2 separate regions of the Homo sapiens genome follow, and region 2 is linked to region 1. Evidence: promoter capture Hi-C in human tissues and cell types (Jung and others, 2019). All regions are on one chromosome and are shown on one strand. The core of a region is centred on a gene start or on the middle of the fragment in contact, and the rest is flanking DNA. Distances in the headings are between cores, read along the strand shown. Region 1 holds the start of THOC7 (THO complex subunit 7). Region 2 overlaps SYNPR (synaptoporin).

Evidence for each region. Contacts are between HindIII fragments. The study calls those that stand out against the background at their distance.
Region 2: a fragment that was not itself captured here is called in contact with the fragment with the promoter of THOC7 in region 1 in 3 of the 25 tissues and cell types used here (dorsolateral prefrontal cortex, hippocampus and mesenchymal stem cells).

Annotation. Positions count from the first base shown.
Region 1 is chr3:63,861,290-63,865,573 of GRCh38, reverse strand. THOC7 (THO complex subunit 7) reads left to right here and starts at 1,769. Exons shown (of 8, transcript NM_025075.4): 1 at 1,769-1,802. The coding sequence starts at 1,784. It overlaps ATXN7 (ataxin 7), which reads right to left and starts at 1,707. Exons shown (of 13, transcript NM_001377405.1): 1 at 1,416-1,707. It overlaps THOC7-AS1 (THOC7 antisense RNA 1), which reads right to left. Exons shown (of 2, transcript NR_104326.1): 2 at 3,755-4,075. RefSeq lists silencers at 1,031-1,250, 1,261-1,500, 1,831-2,050. The HindIII fragment of the contact is 20,525 bases long and covers 1-4,284 here.
Region 2 is chr3:63,367,671-63,371,954 of GRCh38, reverse strand. All of the region lies in intron 2 of SYNPR (synaptoporin), which reads right to left. Among named protein-coding and RNA genes, the nearest start is that of SYNPR, 92 kb to the right of the region's middle. The HindIII fragment of the contact is 3,775 bases long and covers 1-3,631 here.

The sequences.
Region 1 (4,284 bases), core at 520-3,019:
AATGCAACTTGGTATTGTGAACCCCAATCAATTGACAATTTCAGTTTACAATCTGTAGTACTTAAGATTTAAAACAATTCTTCTCTTAGAGTGCCCTGTCTCCTAAAACCAAGGAAATGAACAGGGTCTGATGATGCCCACCTACAGCCAGCGTTTAGGTCAGTATTTTTTCAAAGTCGGAAACTTCATACCTTAGGGGAGAGCAAGTCACATCTCAGAATCTTCATGTAAAGTAATTTTTGTCTTTGTGACAAAAGTCAAGTTCTTGAGCACTAATTCTTGAGAGCACTGTAATGGTATTATTGAAGTCACTGGTCTCACATAATATGACTAAAATTGTACATATTTCTTGCTAGAGGTTAAACACACTTCACTTTAATACATTTGCATCTGCAACTTCTCCTCTTTGAAAGAACTGGGGGAAAACAGGGAGAATGTACCTAAATTTAGTAAGGAAAGTGAAACAACCAAGTTTATCCTACACAACTTCTTCATCCCGGATATGAAGATGCAAGATCTACTTGGGGGACAGGAAAATTGGAAAACAACGGTATGGCTGAATAAAATAACAAACCTGGGTTCAAAATGAGACACGATCCTGGTGCTAATCGTATCTATCCCACTGGAGGTCAAATCAGCTGCACTGGTGCCTGTTTCCTCATCCACCTCTCACCACCTAAACGTGCCATTTACGAGAAAGCTATCGAAGTTGAATCAAAGTGACTTTTGGAAAGAGATGCCAATATAATTTGCAGTGTGCTCCAAACAACTACACACAAGGCAACGTTTCTCATTGAGCACCCCCGCCCCCACTTTCAACTTCCCCTTAAGATAGGGACAGTCACATAGACATTTTTTGAAAATCAAAGAGAAAAATAAAAGCACCCCATCACGATCACCGACGAAATCCCGACTCTGTGGTGGAATTGGGTGCCGGGTGAGGACGATGGCAACACGCTCCTGGTCGCTTCGCGAACTCCTCCGGGAGGTCGCCAAGTTTCTCTTTCACCCTTTTTCCCGCACCCGCCGAGCCCAGGAAGGAAGGGGGCGGCCGCAGGGGCCGGAACCGCGCGACCTGGAACCCGGGGCCTTTTTTGATTGCCGGCCGCGCCCCGCGCAAGTGCCGGCGTTCGAGACCCGCCCCAGCGCGCGTGGGCGCCAACTTCGCGGGGACCCCCAGCGACGCGCCCCCCTCGGTACCCCTAGTCCCGCCTCTCCTGGGCTCAGCCGGATCCGGGCGTCCCCGTCACCCTCCCCACCCCCCAGGGAAACGAGCCCACCCCTAGCAGCGTCACCCTGGATGGGGCGGCGGGGCCGCAGTCACCTTCCCGGGGAAGAAGCCGGGACCCCGACTGCGGGCGGCCCGCAGCTCCCGCCGCACCCCCGCAGCCCTGGCGGCGTCCGGGCGAGCTCACCTGGCGGCTGGCTGCGGCCTCCGGGGCGGCCTCTGGGCGTGGGCCGGGCGGGGGCTGCAAGGGGGGCGGCGGGAGCCCGGGCTGCAGCCGGGGCCGCCGCCGGCCGCCAAGCCTCGCCCCAACTCGCGCCGGCCGCGGCCGCCCCCGGGGAGTACCGGGAGCGCGGGGAGCGCGGGTCCCGCGGCGGCGGCGGCGGCGGCGGCGGCGCGGCGCGGCGCGGCTCAGGCGTCGGAGCAGGCGGCCGCGGGCGCCGCCGCCTCCTCCTCCATGGCTGTTTACCCGGCTGCATTGTGGGAGTTTGACCTCCGCCGCCGCCAACCGCCGCCTCAGCTTGCGCCGCCGCCGCCGCCGCCGCCGCCGCGCACGCCATGGGAGCCGTGACTGACGGTGAGGCCCCGCTCGCCGCCACACGCGCCCGCTGCACGGCCCGCTGGGCCTCCCCTGAGACCCCTGGCCTCCCGGCCCGCTTCCGGGAACCCCTCGGCCTCCCCGGCCTCTTCGCCAGAGCGCTTCGGCCTTCCCGACCTCTCCCCGGAGCCCCGGGCCTCCCCGGCTGCTTCCCTGAGTCCTTCCTCCTCTCGCCAGAGCCCGAGCGCCCCTCGGAGACCCTCGGCTTTCCCCGTCCGCTCTCCCGGAGGCAGCGCGGGGCTATAGGGTGTGCCGGGAGCGTGGTCGGTGGGCTGGGAACACACGTGGGTGGCCGAGACGGCTAGAAGCGGTGCAAGGGCGGGTGGGACCAGAGGGAGTCCGGGTTTGTCTAGGGGCGCGGTGAGGACCCAGGAGCCGCGAAGGGTGGACAGTGGTGCCGGGCTTAGGGCTGGGGGCCTGGAAGGTTTGTGGAGGTCTGGGAGGGAGTGGGAGCTCCAGGGACGGGGCGGGAATTTCGGGACTCGTCTACAAGGGGTGTCAGGATACAGAGCGTGACACCAGGAGGGGTCCTGGGGCATATTGGGAAGCACTCACAGACAGTGGAGTCGATGGCAATGAGGCCTTGAACTGCGAGTGGATTGTGGGTGAGAAGGAGGAGCAGGGAATTATTTATAAAAGGAATAGATAGGGATGAGGTATCCGGAGGGTGATCAGGAAGTGTACCTGGGAGATTTACGGGGGTAAGGAGGAGCCAGTATAGTGATGAGACCGTCTAGGGTAGATCAGGACGATAAAAGATGTATGTGTGTGTGTTAGGAAGGGTGGTTGTCAGCTGGGATGAATTTAGAGGGGCAAAGGCTGGGTTTGTGGACAGTCTAAGGGAGATGGTCTATGGACTGAGAGCGGAAATAAGGTGACACTTTGGGGGAAGGGGCATGATTGGCAACTGGAGGGAGAACCTACAAGGTATCTGGTTAGGGAGGAAGGAGGTCCTTTGATATCTGGGAAGGGGATATCTAGGGCTCTTGGGTGTTTTTCAGGAGATGGTGACCGGTAACTGTAAATGCCTGTGGAGAGGCCACTTCTTAAGAGTTGAAGACCACCAGGGTCTCCACATTAAAGGGCCTGGCCATGGGAAGAACAGTGATAGGCCCAAATTTCCAGACTGATAAAGAGTAGTGGAGGTGGGAGGCTACTAAAGACCCAGGAACTTCATGTGGAATTTCAGCTTTGCTTCATTCCAGTTTCATTTATTTAGTGGATATTTATCCTTCCTGGACTAGGCTTTGGGATTACAACCCAGAACTAACAAGCAAGAACTTTTCCCTCTCCAAAATTTTGGTCTGAAGGGAAAGAAACATTGACTAATGAGTTTTAAGAGTGACAAATATTACCACAAGGAAGTACAAGGTTGGGAACTGTAGGAACATGTAACAAAGATTATTTATCCAATCAATGGAAATGAGAAAGCCTCCTCGAAGTTAATCCCATTTTTGAAGAATAAATAGATATTGGACTGGTGTTCTGGGTTGGTAGCCACTTGTATAAAGACCCCAAGATGTTGGAAGAACTCAAAGCTGACAAGTATTGCTAGAATTTAGAAAGTTATGAGCCAGAGATCTCTAAGGGCAATAGGAATCCATTAAAAGTTTTAACACTGGTGTGGTGTTAATCAGATTGGCATTAAAACACACACACATGCCGGGCACAGTGGCTCACGCCTGTAATCCCAACACTTTGGGAGGCCAAGGCAGGCGGACCTCTTGAGCTCAGAAGTTCAAGACCAGCCTGGAAAACATAGTGAGACCCCATGTCTACAAATACAAAAAAATTGGTCTGGCACAGTGGCACACACCTGTAGTCCCAGGACTTGGGAGTCTGAGGAGAAAGGATCACTTGAGCCTGGGAGGTTGAGGCTGCAGTGAGCCAAGATCGCGCCAGTGCACTCCAGTCTGGGTGACAGAGTGAGACCGTGTCTCATTAAAAAAAAAAAAAACACACACACACATACACACTGTCTCTGTTATGTGCAGAATGATTAGAGGAAGAGAAAATGAGGAGCTAAGTTTCCTCGCCACTTACTAACGTTTACGTAGTGCTGTTAGGTATTATTCTAATTGTTATCCCCATTTTACAGATGAAACAGACACAGGTTAGCTTGCCTAAGGTCGCACAGATAGTAGTTATAGAGGGTCAAAGGCAGGGAGACCACCTGCCGAGTTCCTGCTCTTCACTATTATGCGTCCTGTGTCTGCTACTTCTGCAGTGGCCCTGGTGAGAGACAATGAGGACTGTGACCAAGAGGGAATGCAAAGAGGACAGGTGGGAGGGAAATAGGGAAATTTGTGAGGTAGAATGTCAGGACTTCAGGTATTGAATGGATGGTGGGAGAAGGGATTTAGGATGATCCCAGGTTTTTGACTTCACTGTGTGCCTGTTAGTGCTACTTTTCTATTTATTGAGATTGAGATGTCCAAAGGAGCAACAGGCTTTGTCAGAT
Region 2 (4,284 bases), core at 495-2,994, 490 kb after region 1:
CTGCATGGTGGCTGTTGTGTGTGGGAAATGCCAGCATAGCAACCAGGTCCTTTGTTCCTTCCCCATCCTGAGGGTGGTTAGGGTGGTACTACTGCAGTTCCAGTGGCAGACGGGCTGTGGGTTGTCTCTGTGATTTCCTCCTCAGTGAAATGTAGAACCGCCTCCGACTAAAGTGTTGAGGTGGGGCCAGAGTGGTTGTGCTAGAGTCCGAGGTCCAGGGTCCCACTCAGTGAGGAGAAGTTGGAACGAGGACTCAGGTGGAAAAGAGTCTGGCCACTTCTCTGTGGGGCAGCTGTGCTGCACTGGGGAGCTGTATCAGTCTCAAATCACCACGCACCTTCTAGAACCTGAGGGCAGCAGCAATTAGGGCTGCAGGGCAGCAAAAATAGTGGCTTGCATCTCCCTCTGGGAGCTCCGTCCCAGGGAAGTCAGAGCTGCTACTGGTCTGAAAGCCCAGGCAGTAGGTGGCTGGAGTCCCAGGCCAGTGGGCCTTATCCTGCAAGGTGAAACCTGAAGTTCATCACTGCTCAGCCTCATGAAATTTGCCTCTTTCCCGGAGACGTGCAAGGGAGCCTGACCTCCCCCACTGCCAGAGCTGCAGTGGCTAATGCCAGGATGCCTGGGGATCCAAGGCTCCTAGGACTCCATGTGTGCATGAGTGACTTCTCTTACCAGACTCCACAGAGCTCTCGGTGTCAGTCTGGAGGCCCCTGTGGGGTGGGCTCACAGGGGGATCTCCTGAGCCCAGGGTTGCAAAAGTCCATGGTAGAAGTGTGGGTTCCTGGGGACTGTCACTCACTCATCATTTTTCCGAGGTATGGGGGCCTCCTCTGGCTCTATGCCATCCCAGGTGGGTGGTTGTCTTGTCTCATTCCTCTCTTTCATTCGTGGGTTGTTTCCTTGATGAATCGCAATGTGTCCACCTGAATGTTCCAGTTAAAGGTCTAGGGTTTACTCACCACTGTTTCTTCTGTCCGTGAGAGCAGTGCACGCTAGCTCCTTCTAGTCAGCCATCTTGGCTCTCCCCCATATTTAAATTCTAATTCAACAATAGGGATTAGAGGATATTTTCTGGGTTTATGAATCCACTGTGTTTATATAGGGGTCTTTCTCTAACTCAGTACTCTAAATTTTTACAAGGTTCTCACCTATGAATTCAAAGTTTAACCTGATAGCATAAAATATAAAATTACTCCTTACTGTCTCCAGCGGGTCTGGATATCTAAACAACCTCAAAATTGCAGAAGAGTAAAAGATATTATTTTGTAACCCACAAAGTGCTGAGAGATCCATCTAGAAATTATGCCCCCAGACTAAAAATTTCCAGCTATGCCCACAAATCATAGACAAAAGGCCATGTGGTATTTGTCCATTTTAAACACCACAGTATACAATTACCACAGTTAAGTTTCAGCATAATTTTTTGGGCGAGTACAAATTCCACTTTTCAGACATCTACAGAAGTAAGATTATGAAGTTCTATTAAGAGGAAGTATCCAATAGATTCTTTATTGGCACACTAGACAGCTTGTCAATGTGTTTTTTGAAAACTCACCTAAGAAACAATGAAAGGATTAAATAAATCCCAGATGGGAGCAGAGTCAATCCTTTCAGAGCAGTCTCAAGGGCCTGATTTTCTAAATGAAATCTTGCCAAGTTTAAAATATCATTGTTCCCATCTTGGGCTAGCTTTGGAAAAAAACATCTTCCACAGGGCAGAGAACTGCCTCCCCTAGGGAAGCTTTTAGAGGATAAAGGGGGATTAACATGTCCACTTCATGTGGACATCTACAAATTTCTCTCATTTACGTATCTCCTCCAGCTGTCTAGCTGCTTGCTGATTATGTGCACTATCAAAAATCAGAAAGAATGTGGATTATCTACAAGGACAGAGCCTCACAAACAGGTTTTAAATTTTATTCCCTGCTTTAGATAGTAAGATTCAAATGAAGTAACTCAAAATGGTTCATTCATGACCCTCTTTTCAAAATGGTCATGAGATAAGACGAGAACCTGAAGAAGCTCCAAGAATCTTTGGATTCCTTAGGTGAGGAAGAAAATTCTTCTTAGTCTTCATGAACTCAAATCAACCTCAGAATTCCATACAGTGTTAAGGAAACATAAAGGGAGTCTAAAAATGTTCTAAAAATATAAGCAAAATATGGTATTAGCTGATTGATTGTTGTCCCAATTACAATTAAATAAAAAATAATGACATGGAAGGCTTTGAGAGCAATGTCAAAGCCTCTCTGCTTCGCCTTCACACCAGTGGGTAGTGGTTTGTTAAGAGACAACAACACAAAGACAGCAAAATGGAAAATTGATTCCATCTTACGAAGCTTGAACACCAGGTTCCAAACTTTAAAGCATTGGATTGGTGCATCCAGTGGGAAAACACAAATATTAAAATGTTTTAGAAAAGTAAAAGATAAAGAAATATCACATAGCTTATGTTATTTGGCCATAAGCATTTAATTGTTTTAACTTTTCAATTGATTTTATGTTGTTTTTGCAGGTACATATATTCTCTGAGATCTACTTTCCCTATACTGGGTGCTCCTCTTTCCACACTTAACCCCCTCCTCCATTTTGCAGACTCTATCAGTTTGCTCAGGCTGCCAAGGCAAAATGATTTTGACAACAGAACTTTATTTTCTCAGAGTTCTGGAGGCTGGAGTCCAGGATCAAAGTGTCAGCAGAGTTGGATTCTCCTGAGGTCCCTGTCCTTAGCTTGCAGACAGCCACCCTCTTGTTGCCTCTTCACATGGCCGCCTTTTGTGCATGCATGTTCCTGGTGTCTCTTTCACTTCCTAAAAGGACACCAGTCATATTGGATTAAGTTCCCACTCTAAGGGCCTCATTTTAACTTAAACTCCTCTTTAAAGACCTTACCATTAAATACAGTGACATTCTGAGATATTGGGGGTTAAGACATCAAATTGTGAATTTTGCAGACACATGATTTAGCTCATAACACAGACCATGAGTACAGAGGATTTATTTCTCCCTATCTTGACAACAACAGCATCTTCATGTAAGGTGTCCTTCTCAACTCTAAGAAATGTCCTTGTTGAAGCTTTGTTTGAATGTCTATCAACAACACAATCACTTGTCAAATCTTCACAATCTGACTTGAAGCAACACTGTATAAATAAAATACCTCTTTCCAAAACTGTCAATAAACTTCTTCAGCCAAAATCAAAGGCCATTTTTTTCATTCTATCTTTCCTGGTTCAGTCTGTAGCACTGCACACCATCACTGCCACCTCTGATTGAAAATATGATCCTTCCTTAATGACCATGGCTTTATACTCCACAGAACTCTTTGTTATTCCTTCTCCTAATTTTGCTTCTCTGAGGTCCAGATTCACTCGTCTGGCCTGTTCCTTCCCCATTAATCTTAAGAAAATCTTGTCCCTTTAAGTAACTCAATCATCGCCTTTTTCACAAGTGACCCTGCAGTGACATCTCCAGACTTGAATTGCCTCAGAACTTGGGTCTTTTACATCCAACTTGAAGCTCTTCATCTTCAATTTTCTCAACTGGAACTCAGCATATGCAACATCACATTCCTCTTTCATTCAAACTAGCGCCCTTTCTTGCACTCTTTCTCTGCTTCCCTGTAGGACACTCAGCTCAAAGCCTGGCATTACCACTGGTCACTCATTAATGTATTATCCAAGTATTTACTGAACCTCTGCTGGGAAGCAGACAATGTGCTAACCAAGGCAGATATCTGTGAATGAAACGTGCATAGTTCTCAGCTTTGCAATTGCTCTTGGTCCAGGCAAACACCTCTCTCTTTGATGCTCCATAGCCTGTCACTAAATTCTATAAATCCTCCTTCTAAACATCATGCAGGCTCATCTCTACTTTTTAAAAATTTCTTGCTGCCAAAATCAATGTCTCGTTTCTCAATACATCAGTTTTTATCACACTGAGATTGCTGTAATAACCTCTAAACTGATCCTATGCCCCTAATTTCCATTTTACTTGATCCTTACCACCCAATCTCTGTAGAATATCACGGCAATACTAACCTTTAACTACTAGTATTATCACTGTCACTTCCTGCAGAAAATCATCAGTGATTGTGCTTGCCCTCTTAAAAATAAAATCCAAACTTCAGATCTGGGGAAATGGGAAGAAACATGTAGGTGTGAGTTATTATTTTATTACTTAAAAGCTTTATGTTCCCAGGAAAGTCACTTACCATCTCTGGGCCTGTTTCCCTAGTTGAAATATTAGTATTAAAATTGGTAACTAGCTCATGAATTATTTAAA